Regions from separate parts of the Homo sapiens genome. Here region 1 is linked to region 2. The links are contacts of gene promoters, found by promoter capture Hi-C in human tissues and cell types (Jung and others, 2019). All regions are on one chromosome and are shown on one strand. Each heading gives the region's core, a stretch centred on a gene start or on the middle of the fragment in contact. The rest is flanking DNA. Distances are from core to core; before and after follow the strand shown. Region 1 overlaps BPIFB3 (BPI fold containing family B member 3). Region 2 holds the start of BPIFB6 (BPI fold containing family B member 6).

Region 1 (3,315 bases), core at 486-2,985, 41 kb before region 2:
TGGATAAATCTTCAGATGAGCTCCAAGTCTCCCCTACCTATTGCCTAGCCTCAAATCCTCTGAGCCAGTTATCAAAACTTGGTTGGCACTTCTTCACTCAGGCCATCTGTAAGTGCCAACTTGGGGATATTTTTCACCAAAGGTGCCCATCGTAAGCAGTGGGGAGAAGCCCAGGACCTAGAGGCAGGACCCCTAGTCTCTCATCCCAACTCTGCCGCTGTGTGGACCAGGGCCAGCCAAGCCCTGCTCTGGCTTCAGTCTCCCCATCTGCACCAAGAGCGTTTGGCACAGCTCTGTTCTGAGCTGTGTCCATGTCTGATGTGCAGCCAATAGGGACCCCCCCACACCACAGGGCAAGAACAAGTCTCACTCATCCTTGCTTCCTGGGGTGCTAGTGCCTTTGTTTCCTGGAAAGCTCCTATTCTCCCTTCAAAATTCAGCTCAGATGTCACTTCTGATAAGCATCCCAAAGTCAGAAACAGAGAAAAATGCAGACTCAGAGAGAGAGAGAGTGAAAAGTAGAAGTATTTAGAGAAAGAGAGAGAGAGAGAGCTGGAGGCAAGGGGGGCAGGGACAGAGAGGAAGGCAGAACAGGACACAGAGGCTGCCCAGGCCAACAAGGTCAGTTTGGGACTCAAAGCTACAATGACAAGGCCCTGAGTCCCCTCACCTCCCAGAAGCTCCTACCTGGAGCTAAGGAGGGCACTGGAGGCAAAGGCCAAGTCAAGTCCTACGTGACTGGGGAATAAACCAGCCAGGAGATACCGAGATACAGGAGTCATTTATTGAAAGCTCAGGGTTTGCTACTGAGGCCCCAGAGCTCTCTCTGAGGCAGTTCTATGATTAGCCAGGCAGTTCCCACCCCAAACTTGGAGTAGTGCTTCAGGGCCAGAGGGCATTTTTACTGTCACCAACATCAGCTAGAGACTGGGAGGGAAATTGAGGCAGAGTAGACAGGTGGTCTCTAGTAGTCAACAGGGAAGGCTGGTGGCCATGTCTCAGCCTCAGGATGCCACGGTCAGCACAACAGCATTCTGTAAGGAACAACCGCTCTTGGTTACACCCCTGAGTCTCTGCAATGCCCCATCCCTGCAGCCATCTTTACTCCCCTGCCCTGGGATTGGCCCTGTACCTGGAACACAGCAGGCACTCATTAAATGAATAAATGAATGATGAAAAAATGACATCCAGTGTGGGACAGGCTCTGACTTGAGGACTTAATAGACTCAAGTTCAACTGCCATTTCTGCTATTAATTTACTGGTGAACTTGGGCCAGAAATCTGACCTACTTCAGCCTTGGTCCTCATCTGAGAAATGGGTACAGAACTCTCTGCTCTGCCCACCTCCTAGAGCTATTCCACCACCCAAAGTTGGGCTGGTTTGAAAAGGATTGTGAGGCCATATCAATATTCCACAAGAAAAAGGGTCATGATCCATTGGTCATATCTGCTGCAGACACAAGATAAGGGAGAGATGGCATATGTATTTGTTGCTGTTGGACCAGGGGAACTGTGATTCTGTGAGTGAATCTTAGGTTCCATTCTAGAGGCCAGACATGTCTCTGAATCCAATGGGAAAGAACTCCGTGATTGATTGATGATGTCTGCCATGGGCAAGAAATGGAGGAGTAGTAGCACACATGTCATATATTTGCCATTCCTAAGTTAGGCAATTTGTAACTCACTGAGAAATTTAGAAAATGGATCAGGGACAGACAAGAGGATGAAGCAAAGCATTCCCCTCATTAGTTTCAAGCAGAGCTTTCCAGAGACAAGCTTAAGGCCCACCTGGGCCGTATCTGCAGAGAAGGCTCACCTCTACGATCTCCAGAACTGAATTGGAAAAATTGATATTAAGAACCTTAGGCAGGGGAATTCCAACATCCAGGGCCACTGTGAAAAGAGAATCGTTGAAAACAAAGGTACATTGGTGGGGAGCTCTTGGACCCTAGGAACCCTCGGACCCTGCTGACCCTATTCCATCACTTTCACTAGCCAGCCAGTTCTCTTCTCACAGAATCAGCTTCTTATTGGCAAACTCCTACTCATCCTCCTACACCCAAACAAAAATGTCCCTATTCTGTATTGTGTCAGTGGTGCCCCCGTGTCAAGCCTCCTAAAGGCTTCATCAATCCCTTACACACTCTGGGTCATCTATATTCTAATCATTTGTTTATATGATTATTTCCTACTAGACTGTGGGAGCTTAAGGCAGGACTGAGGTCAGATCAGCGCTTGAAGTCCATAGGCTGGCAAGATGTAGGTGCTAATCAATGTCATTTAAATGGAAAAATTGGTGCCTCAGTTTCTGCATCTTGCAAATGAGGATCGACCTCTCTCTCTGGCCTCAGTGTCCCCATCAGAACCATAAAGAGAGGCAACAGACTAGACAATACCAAATTCAGACACTCCATGTGTCCAAGAGAGCAAAACCTGCCATACCGTTAAGCTTTGGTGCATACACTGCCCCGACCACATGGCTGAGCCATTCTTCTAAACGCGATCCCTGCAACAGAACACACAGGGTGGTGGGGGTGGTGCTCTGGGGTGTGGCTTTACAGGCAGCAGCATCCCGTTCCCAGGGAGAGAAACCCAGGGGCCCAGCTGCCTCAGCCTCCCCCAAGCCTGAGGACACAGCTCCTGGCAGGCACTGGGCACTTGGGGGTGGCCTGGGCTGTCCACCAGTGACCTCGAAAGAGATTCTGTGATTTAGGCTGGCTTTACCCCAGGCCCCATGAGCTTGGAAGAAGTGCCTTCCTATAAGACTCTGTTGGGGCTGGAGGTGGGCAGTGCCTAAGAAAGAGGGAAGGAAATGTGCCCAGCTCCAGTCTATGGGGTCTGACCTTAGATTCCTGTCAGTTTAGGGACTCTGAGAATGTTCTAGAACCTGAGCCCATGGTGAGATTCCAGAACCTCAGAACTCTGTAAGAAGCAGGAACCTCGGGGCTCTGTGAGCTCTGAAATGGAACTTGCTGAGTTCGGGAAATTTATTACTTGGGAGAAGTTCCAGAATGATGGACCCTTGTGAGGTTCTAGATGTCCACAACTTTGTGAGGTTCCAAGACCGTGGAAGATCATGAGATTCACTTTCCTAAGATGATCACTGTTTCTCTCTCTCTCTCCCCACTGCCCACACCCCCTGCTCTCTCTCACGCACACCCGCCCTGATATTTGCCCACTCTGGCTTAATTGGGGAGGATCCCAGTCCTGAGGTCAGCTCAGTCATATGGCCCATGACTCATGGCCACCCCCTTTCCATGCCACACCTGAAGACTCTCATCACTGCCAAGCCCCTCACCCTCCCAGGAACTTACG
Region 2 (3,163 bases), core at 189-2,688:
ACTTGGTGATGCCCTTGATAGGTTTCATCCCTGGCTGTTTCTTGCCTGCCTCGGCTGCCATCTTCTCCAGGATATGACTCTCATCCATGGCGCTCTGGACCTCTGGAGTGGAGACACTTAGTTGGAGAGATTTTCCCTGGGCCAATCACTCAGGTATCCCAGGCCACTCACCGTCACTGTGCCCCACCCTGGGCTGGACGATGGCAGAGACCCAGAGATGAGTCCCACAGCGCCCCAGCCTAATGGGGGAAGATGGAGTCACCAGCAATGACAGTAACAAGCTGTAGGAGCCGCACGAGGGTTTAGGTAGGAAGAGAAGAGCTGGGGAAGGCTTCCAGGAGGAGGTGACAGATCAGTTGGTACTTGAAAGGGGAATAGTAATTTTCAGCAGGAAGCAAAGGGATAAAAGATATCAGTCTGGACAGAGGGCACAGCAAGTGCAAAGGTGGGTGGGAGAGAAGGTGGCACAGTTGGGGGAAGAGGATAGATTCAGCATGGCTGGAGGGTGAGGACAGACACGACAGAGAAACTGGAGCAGTTTGCAGGGGGCATGTAGTGAAGCTCTTGAACCCTAGGGTACTGACTTTATCCTGTGGACCAGCCACTCCCAAGCCTAGGTGATTAGGGGACTCCTCTGGGGACTTGAATGCAGACTTTGGGCCTGAAGCAGAGAAATTCTGATTCCCCAAACCTGGAGGACCCAACCCCAAGTAACACCCCGCCAGAAACACCTCCATTATGGTCACAAGCTAATTCCAGAGAGGGCACAAACACTGAGCTGGTAGAACAGTCATTAGCCTTTTGTACCTGGATGTGACTCGGTTTCCCTTGTGCTAGTGGAGTGGGGGATGGAGGTGGAAAACACATTTTACTAAGGTCTCCTCCAAGAGATTATTCTATCCTGCTAGGGACAGACTGGTCACCCTATTTTACATTTCTTTACATTTCACCTTTACAGATGAGCAAACAGCAACACAGGGAGGCCAAGTAACTTGCCTGAGGTCACACAGCAAGTTGTTGCTGGGATTTGACCCTTGTCTGTCACTCCCACAGCCCACTTGTGGCTAAAACCCCTGCCATCAGGGCCAAGGAGAGACTCCAAAGGAGCAGGATTTTCAGCTCTGCCTCTAACTTGCAGGGGGAGCATGGGAAAATCATCCCATTTTCTCTGGTCCTTGGTTTCTCCCCTCTGTAAAGTGGGAGAATAATAATAACACTTGCTTATAAGTTTACTTGGAGCTCACGGGATGCTCCAGGATGTGCAACCAAGAGCAGTGACTACCTACCACCTACCCCAAGCACCGCCTCCCAGCTGCACGCCCGGGCCCACAAGCTCACCACGGTTCATGATGTCCATGCCCAACCGCAGCAGTGCCCCAGGGTCAGCTCGCGTGCCAGTCAGCAGGCTGCAGAGTGCCAGGCACAGGATCCGCAGCATGGCACCACCTGTGCCAAGGGGCCTGAATTGGGCGCAGCCCACCAGACCCTGGTCCCCTTGGGGACCTTCTGTCTCAGAGCAGATTGAGCCCCCTGGGTGTTTCTGGGGTCCAAGAGCCTTTAGACTCCAGCCAGTTCAGCAAACATGAGCACTGCCCTCTTCCAAGGGATTGAGGAACCCCCAGATTAAACACAGGGCCTCCAGCCACCCCCAGCTAGCTCATTTCCCTCTGTAAGCCTCAGTTTCCCCATGGACATGGTGTGTTCTGACCAGCCTGCAAGATGGGGTTGGAGGAAGGTTCAACTGCAGTTTTTCATGGGTTCAAGGACGGCTGAATGCTGGAGCCACAGAGAGAGTTCCAGACTTTCCTTGAGCCCCACACGGCATTGTGGGAGTGGGGAGCCCTGTGTCCCCACCTTGACCCTACAGCCAGGGTCCCTCCCCACCTCTTCCAGCTCAGCTCACTTCCATGTGGAACTCAGAAAGCTCAACTCTGAGCCCTGAAAGGCCTCTTGAGACATCGCCTCTCCGATAGAGAAACTGAGGCACAGACATTAGGTCTCCTAGCATAAGGACCTCCCACCCCAGACCTTTTCAGGTTCCCAGGAAAGCCCTACCCCACCCCGGGCCCATAGAAATCCTTCCCTCTTACTTACCAAGATCTGAAACTCTTCCAACCAAGGGCCAAGTGTATATTTCAGTTTTGAGCTTTGGCTGAAAAGAATGAAGGCAGGGCCCATGGGAGCAGGGCCTATGTCCACCCAGAGAGAGGAGGTTCCCACCAGACTCTCTCTTGCTCTCAGCGGGCTAAGTCACTGAGGGCTCACCTAATGCACAAACTAAGATGGGCCCTTACCATGGGCCTGCCTTCCCAGTCCAAGCCAATGCCTGCATTCATTCACTCATTCACTCATTCATTCATTCGGCTCACATCTATTGGGTGTCTTCTCTGTGCCAAGCAGACCGGGCTTGTCTCTTTTATCTCGGTGGCAGAGACAGCCCTGCTCCTCCTAAATCCTAAAGTCTGGCAGGGAACGAGAAGCAATAGGGTGGGATATGGGATAAAGGGGTCAGGGACGGACTCCTTATGGAGGAAACATTTAGGCTGAGACCTGAGGGATGAAAAGGAGCTTAAGTATCGAGAAGTGTTCAAGCCAATAGTCAATATTCACTAAATGGAAGATATATCTGGGCTTAAAATAATCCACAGTAGCGCTTCTCGACCACTGTGAATGCACAGGTGCGTGCCATGACGTGTGCTCATGTCCCGGCACACCCCATGTCAAATCTCTTTAAAAATCATCCCCAAAGGGGCTGTGAAATTCTGAGCCAGGCAACAGAGCTGGGAGGGGCTTGGTGAAGGTCTCCTCCAGCCCCAGCCCCATCTCACAGACGGGGTGACTGAGCCTCACCCCAGTCTCCCGTCCCCAGGCCAGAACTGATGCCAGGTGTTAGGGTCACTCAGGGCAGGGTCTTTTTTTGCCCTTTCAGAATAATAAGTGGCTTCAGGTAACGTGGTCATGCGGGTGTCTCTGGGACAAATGGCTAATGCTAGGGTTTTGTTTCTGAATGTGCTTGTCCTAAGCTGCCCCTCCCTTTTAGAATGCCTTCCCTCCATCCATCTATCACTGACTCAACCCTCAAGTCCTAATTTCAGCACTTGCCTCATCTACCAGGAAGCCTTCCTCAACCCCCGACTGCCCTGAGCCTCAAAAATCACAAATT

What was found. The method cuts DNA at HindIII sites, captures the fragments that hold promoters and counts their contacts. A contact is called where the count stands out against the background at its distance.
Region 1: a fragment that was not itself captured here is called in contact with the fragment with the promoter of BPIFB6 in region 2 in 1 of the 25 tissues and cell types used here (spleen).

What each region holds. Positions count from the first base shown.
Region 1 is chr20:33,071,295-33,074,609 of GRCh38, reverse strand. BPIFB3 (BPI fold containing family B member 3) reads right to left here. Exons shown (of 16, transcript NM_001376932.3): 13 at 3,315; 14 at 2,443-2,506; 15 at 1,817-1,893; 16 at 763-1,034. The coding sequence ends at 1,005. Among named protein-coding and RNA genes, the nearest start is that of BPIFB4, 6.7 kb to the left of the region's middle. The HindIII fragment of the contact is 5,429 bases long and covers 1-3,315 here.
Region 2 is chr20:33,029,923-33,033,085 of GRCh38, reverse strand. BPIFB6 (BPI fold containing family B member 6) reads right to left here and starts at 1,438. Exons shown (of 15, transcript NM_174897.2): 1 at 1,342-1,438; 2 at 3-102. The coding sequence starts at 1,438. The HindIII fragment of the contact is 18,408 bases long and covers 1-3,163 here.